Regions from separate parts of the Homo sapiens genome. Here region 2 is linked to region 1. Evidence: promoter capture Hi-C in human tissues and cell types (Jung and others, 2019). All regions are on one chromosome and are shown on one strand. The core of a region is centred on a gene start or on the middle of the fragment in contact, and the rest is flanking DNA. Distances in the headings are between cores, read along the strand shown. Region 1 holds the start of FBXW12 (F-box and WD repeat domain containing 12). Region 2 overlaps ATRIP (ATR interacting protein).

Evidence for each region. Contacts are between HindIII fragments. The study calls those that stand out against the background at their distance.
Region 2: a contact is called between a fragment that was not itself captured here and the fragment with the promoter of FBXW12 in region 1, in 7 of the 25 tissues and cell types used here (IMR-90 fibroblasts, aorta, heart left ventricle and 4 more).

Annotation. Positions count from the first base shown.
Region 1 is chr3:48,369,649-48,373,468 of GRCh38, forward strand. It overlaps FBXW12 (F-box and WD repeat domain containing 12), which reads left to right and starts at 2,571. Exons shown (of 11, transcript NM_207102.2): 1 at 2,571-2,672; 2 at 3,036-3,209; 3 at 3,660-3,697. The coding sequence starts at 3,120. The HindIII fragment of the contact is 16,322 bases long and covers 1-3,820 here.
Region 2 is chr3:48,457,624-48,460,537 of GRCh38, forward strand. It overlaps ATRIP (ATR interacting protein), which reads left to right. Exons shown (of 13, transcript NM_130384.3): 6 at 1,736-1,831; 7 at 2,164-2,293; 8 at 2,487-2,914. ATRIP-TREX1 (ATRIP-TREX1 readthrough) reads left to right here. Exons shown (of 15, transcript NR_153405.1): 6 at 1,736-1,831; 7 at 2,164-2,293; 8 at 2,487-2,914. Among named protein-coding and RNA genes, the nearest start is that of TREX1, 7.1 kb to the right of the region's middle. The HindIII fragment of the contact is 6,156 bases long and covers 1-2,914 here.

The DNA of each region.
Region 1 (3,820 bases), core at 1,321-3,820:
CTGACTGCTGGGGTTCAAACCCGGTGCCATTTCCCAGGGGTGTCACTGTGGGCAAGTCACCTAACCTCTGTATGTGTTGGCTCCCACCTATGTGTTCTAAAACTGGTGCCTGGGATTGGTTTTAATCAGGTGTGGCAAAGCGTGCAGACACAGCAATGATTGTCATGAAGGAAGAAGTTTATACTCACAGATCCCTATAAACAAGAGGCCTGGCTCCCCACGCAGGGCCACATGGAGAGCACCAAGGGCAGTCAGGAGGCAGAAGGGGCGGGGCAGCATAGGCCTGAGCCTTTATTGTGTTTTCTGTAAGAAACGAAGAGGGCAGAACAGGGTAAGCCTTTTAGAATGGGCTAGTTTAAATGGTTCTGGCTGGCTTTGAGGCATAGGGGCCGTCTCCAGTTGTCTGGTACCTGGCCCTGGGTTGATTTAGGGCAGGAGGAATATTAACTTGCTGTGTGAGAGTTTGGTAAAGGAGATGATTGTGGGTGTGGGCTGTAGCTTGGTTCGTTTGCATAAAAGGCACTCTCCTTTGCTATCTGGCTAGGCCTGGGAAGGAGAGTCTCTCCCCAGTCAGCAAGATCACAAATGCCAGAGCATCAAGAATACAGAAAATTAAAAATATACAGAGAATACAACTGGCCCTGTGATGGATGCCAGACAAATTCAGAATCTAAGAGAACACGGAGCACCCTGGCAAGGTGGCCAGTAATAGGACTTACCTCATCTAGCCGTTGTGAGGATTAAATAGATGAGCCCCTGTAAATTGTTTAGACGGGTGCCTTGCCTGCAGAAGGCGCCATGAAAGGTGTGCTGTTACTTCTCCCCTTGCTACGCCCCCTTTACTTCCCATGCTGTGTCGTCCCTCCCTCTCTGTCCTACTCTCAGGCTGCCCAACTCCTTATGGATCCCTCTTCTCAGGTTTCCCCAGCTGCCTGCTTTAATCTACTTTCTCCTAGACAATGTCCGGACCATTCTCTCACCTGCATCTTATCTTTTGCTTAGACTATTACGCAGTTACCATTTCACATCTCTCAAATTTTACATCTCTTAACTCTTGTGACATTTAGATTTGTCTTCATCTATTGTTGCAATGTGTCTTTCTCTGCCGCTTTTCTGGTAGCACCCCGCCACCACCACCCCCCAACACACCTTCCTGTTCCTCTATTTTTTTTGTTGTTGTTGTTGAGATGGAGTCTCGCACTGTCGCCCAGGCTGGAGTGCAGTAGCGCAATCTCAGCTCACTGCAACCTCCACCTCCCAGCTTCAAGCAATTCTCCTGCCTCAGCCTCCCAAGTAGCTGGGATTACAGGCACCCGCCACCACGCCCAGCTAATTTGTTGTATTTTTAGTAGAGACAGGGTTTCACTATGTTGGCCAAGCTGGTCTCAAACTCCTGACCTGGTGATCCACCCGCCTCGGCCTCCCCAAGTGCTGGGATTACGGGCATGAGCCACTGTGCCTGGCCTCTGTTCCTCTATTTCAAATTCATTCATTCACTCATTCGGCAATTTGCTTCAGTTTCCTTATGTTTGCCTCTTTCTCATCTGTCCTCTTTTCCATTTTATTCCTACTCTGTCTCAGTCCACTTACAGTTATATTTCCTATCTGTGTATTTTATAATATTTGTGCTTTAATACTTTTAAAATATCCTTTATTTTACTGTTTCTTCTCTTCCCTTGTCATATTTTAAAGTGTTTTATTTCTCAGCCTTCTATATCTTTGCATTAATTCTGTTCCTCTACAATAGAGTCCGTTCCAAGCTTTCTGTCTTCCTGTGTCCTTCCACGGCTCTGGCTCTCTCTGCATTATTTCCTATTTATGGAATACAAATCTTTTACCCTTGTATTTTTCTCACTCCTCTCCACACACCCCTTGACTCGCCTTTCCCCACGCCCCTCTAGGTGCTTCTTGGTCTTTGCTTTTCCTTTTTATTTCCTCACCATGTCAATTTGTATTTTTCCTCTCTCTTACTACTGTATCATAAATGGGACTCCCGACAACCACTCCCGTGTGTCTGCCTGGAGGCAGCAGTTTTAAGAAGGGTTGGCCACTGAGCCTCACAGAGGGACCCCTGTCTTATGCTGCAGCAAAGTACCATAGACTGGGTGGCTTACAAACAAATTTATTTCTCACAATTTTGGAGGAGAGAAGTCCAAGAGTCACCTGTCAGCACGGTCAGGTTCTGGTGTGGGCCTTCTTCCAGGTTGCAGCTGACACCTTCTCATGTCCTCGCATGATATGAACAGGGCTAGAGAGCGTTCTGGGGTCTCTTTTATAAGGTCACTGGTCCCATCATAAGGACTCTGCCTGTGACCCACTTACCTCCCAAAGGCCCCCCACCTCCAATCACACCAAGGGTTAGAATTTCAACGTAGGAATTTTGAGAGGACACAAACACCCAGGCTATGACACGGTCTTTAGAAAATCCCAGAATGAGTTGTCAGGTTCTTGGGAGATCTGTAACTGTGGGAAAGCGTCACATCCCAGGGAAAGCCACCAGCTGGGAGAGCCATCCCAGACAAGGCCTGCTCCCTTTGGGCGGACCTCTGTGGAGAAGCCAGCTTGGCACGTTCTTTCTCCTCCACTGCAAAGTTAAATGCGAGAAGGTAGAAACCCAGAGGCCATGCTGGCGCTGAGAGATGAGCCCCACTCACCAGATTCAAGATCCCAAGGTAGGCACAGACACAGGGCAAGCAGACTCCAATTCCAGGAGTTTGGAACTTAAATAGAGTCATAGAGACACTCAGATCTGATCAAAGTGAGTGCACTCGGTGACATTTCCTAAAGGGTTCTGACAACTTCATCTGCAACTGGGGCTGCCCCAGGTTCTGCACCTCCAGCTCACAGCGCACAGGTGTTGCTGAGCTCCTCTAAACAATGAACAGCACTAACAAGTGGGTTTAGGTAGGGATGCCTGCCAGCTGTGTGGATCAGGCCCCAGGGGAGAGGCCGGGGTGGAGGTCAGCCCGGGAGTCTGCACACCTGCAGCTTGTTTCTACCGCACACAGATGGGCATGGGTGAAAATCTTTACAAGTGCTGCAGACTTTGGCAAAGCCTATAAATTCAGAGCAGCCCGGAGAGGAGAAAGGAAAGTGGATGTGGGTTCAGGCCGCATGAAATGGAGATCCGATTGCCTGACTTAGCTTTGAAGCGAATCTTCTCTTTCCTGGACCTGTTCGGCTTGCTGCAGGTTTCCCAGGTGAACAAGGTAAAGGCCTTCCACCTCCCACTGCCCCCCAAGCCCGCTGCTTCTCTCGACCAGTTTGAGCACCACTTTGCAGAATAGCAGAGGGTTACACTGAGGCTTTGGGGGTTAGCATTCTTCATACTGAGGGCCTCATATTCTGTTAAACGAAAAGGACAAGCTGATATCCAGGAGTTGTGCTGACTAAACAGTCCTTGAGGCTCCCATTTCAAGCCCTAGGAAATCAACACTTCTTCCTGTGAATTCATGGGAATACCCAGTGCCTGTATTAGCAGTGATAGGTCTCTGTTGTTACCATTTCCTTATCTCCCCACACTGAGAGTGCTTTGAGAGCTGGAATCCCATCTGATTAACCTGTGCGGGCCCAGCTCCCAGAACAAATAATAGCAGAGGATTACCCTTGCTCTCTGATGTAACTGATTGCCTGCTTGTCTCTTCCTTTCTCTCCCATAGCATTGGAATAGGATTGCAGACAGTGATTACCTGTGGAGGTAAGGGAAGGGAAAGGGCAAGGAGGGAAGGGGAGAGGAGATCATCTGACTGCGCACCCATGCTGTGTCCCAAGGCCTGTGTGGCTGTGTTGTGAGATATACACAGGAAAGTTAGTGTGAGTA
Region 2 (2,914 bases), core at 276-2,775, 87 kb after region 1:
TAATTTCTTGCCACATGGGCCTCTGCACATGGATATGGGGTATCCTCTTAACCTGGTGGGTGGCTTCCTCTAAAGCTAGCAAATCCAGAGAGAGCGAGCCAGGCAGAAGCTATCCATTTATGGCCTAGCCTCAGAAGTCACACAGCATCCCCTCTGCCACATTGTATTTGTTAGAAGCAAATCACTGAGTCTGGGCGTCATTCAAGGGGAGAAACCAAGCTTATACCTTTTTTTTAATTTTTATTTTTTATTTTTATTTTATTATTATACTTTAAATTTTAGGGTACATGTGCACAACGTGCAGGTGTGTTACGTATGTATACATGTGCCATGTTGGTGTGTTGCACCCATTAACTCGTCATTTAGCATTAGGTATATCTCCTAATGCTATCCCTCCCCCCTCCTCCCAAGCTTATACCTTTTGAAGGGGAGTTGTGTCAAAGCATTTGTGGGCCTTTTTTTTTTTTTTTTTGAGGCGGAGTCTCACCCTGTCACCCAGGCTGGAGTGCAATGGCACGATCTCAGCTCACTGCAACTTCCGCCTCCCGGGTTCAAGTGATTCTCCTGCCTCAGACTCCCGAATAGCTGGGATTACAGGCACCTGCCATCATGCTTGTGGGCATATTTTTAAACCATCACAGCATCAATTGACCATGCCAAAAACCTAGCTAGTATGCAGGAATCTGTTTTTCTTTTCTTGTTTTTTTTTTTTTTCTTTGAGGCGGAGTCTCACTCTGTCACCAGGCTGGAGTGCAGTGGCGTGATCTCGGCTCACTGTAACCTCTGCCTCCCATGTTCAAGCGATTCTCCTGCCTCAGCCTCCCGAGTAGCTGGGACTACAGGCATGCGCCACCACACCCAGCTAATTTTTGTATTTTTAGTAGAGACAGGTTTCACCATGTTGGCCTGGATGGTCTCAATCTCATGACCTCGTGATCCACCCACTTCAGCCTCCCAAAATGCTGGGATTACAGGCATGAGCCACCGTGCCCAGCCTCTGTTTTCCTTTTGTAGTCCAGCTTTTGAGTTTTTATAACTCAGTCCAGATTGAGGGGATCTGCTGTTTTTTAGAGAGAGACAATCTAACATCAGTAGGTTTTCAGACTGCTATGTCAGTGTATCTTATAAATCGGATACATTGACCCTCTTCTTACCATCAACCTTTCAAATCCTTGGCCATCATAACACTTCTGAGAAACTGTAGCCCACTTACATTTTTGGCATCTAGCAGCTAAAGGGGCAGTGTACAGTAGTGTTACAAGCAGGCAGTAGAGCCCAGTAGCCTGGATGTGAGTCCCAGTAATGCTGTTAACTGGCTTATATGATTTGGGCAAGTCCTTTAGTCTCTGTGCCTCAGTTTCCCTATATGTAAAACAGACCTAATGATAAATCCTTGTAGGGTCACTGAGGAACAAATGGGCTGATGCGTATAGAGCTCTTAAAACACTGTCTAGCACGTAACAAGCACCATGTCAATGTTAGTGGTCACTGTTTTATCTAATTGCCTCATTTTGAGTGAGGCAAACAGCTTGATTTTCTTTTCCTTTCCTTGTATGAGTTCCTGTTTTACATAAGGAAGGTAAAAGATGCAGGGCTCTTGAGCCGCTTTGGCTCTTGTTTGTTCCAAGTTCGAAGAAGTAGAACAGCGTGTGTTTTAAACTCATTGCATGTAAAAGTTTCTAATATGCCCATGCTTCTGGGCTCAAGTTTTGATTTACATTTTATCACATTTCAGATAGTAAGCCCCACAGTCTGAGAGGTGACTCCATAAAACAAGAAGAGGCCCAGAAAAGCTTTGTTGACAGCTGGAGACAGAGATCAAACACTCAAGGTACCAGAATCCCTGCTTCTCCTGCAGGGGCCTGCATGGCTCTGAGTAATATGCAGAAGAATTGCCCAGGCCTCTGAGAACCGGTGCCCCGGGCAGTCCTTCAGAGAGTCCAGGGAAGTCAAAGTATGTGGCTTAAGCAGAAGACTTTATAAAGTGGAAAGGGCCAAGGGCAGGTATGTCCCAGAGCCTTCCGCACCCACAGGCATCTTCCTGGGGCTTAGTGGCAGCCTAGAGGACAGTTGGCATCCAAAGAATCCTTACTGTTTCCTTCTGAAAGCCACCGAAAAGATCTCCCATGTCAGAACCTTCTAGAGTCATCTTGTCTTCTGCAGGTTCCATTTTGATAAACCTGCTCCTGAAGCAGCCTTTGATCCCAGGGTCATCCCTAAGCCTTTGCCACCTCCTGAGTAGTAGTTCTGAGTCTCCTGCTGGCACCCCCCTGCAGCCACCAGGGTTTGGCAGGTAAGCATAAGACTCCTGGAAAGCTTGTTTGGGAAGGAGCTTCCTGGAAGCAAATTCCTTTCTGGCCCTGGCCAGCCTGAGAAGTCTGTGGGAAGGGCAGGCAGCCTGGAGAATTTGGCAGGCAGGCTGTTTGGGGCTCTTGACCTTATCTCCATCCCACACTTAATCTATTTTTCTTTGTGTTTGTTGCCAGTACCTTGGCTGGAATGTCAGGCCTCAGGACCACAGGTTCTTATGATGGGTCATTTTCCCTCTCAGCCCTGAGAGAAGCACAGAACCTGGCATTCACTGGACTGAATCTGGTTGCCCGGAATGAGTGCTCACGTGATGGAGACCCAGCAGAGGGAGGCAGAAGGGCCTTCCCACTCTGCCAGCTTCCTGGAGCCGTGCATTTCCTCCCCCTTGTACAGTTCTTCATCGGCTTACACTGCCAGGCCCTGCAGGACTTGGCAGCTGCTAAGAGAAGCGGAGCACCTGGGGACTCACCGACACATTCCTCCTGCGTGAGCTCTGGGGTAGAGACCAACCCTGAGGACTCAGTGTGCATCCTGGAAGGCTTCTCTGTGACTGCACTTAGCATTCTTCAGCACCTGGTGTGCCACAGCGGAGCAGTCGTCTCCC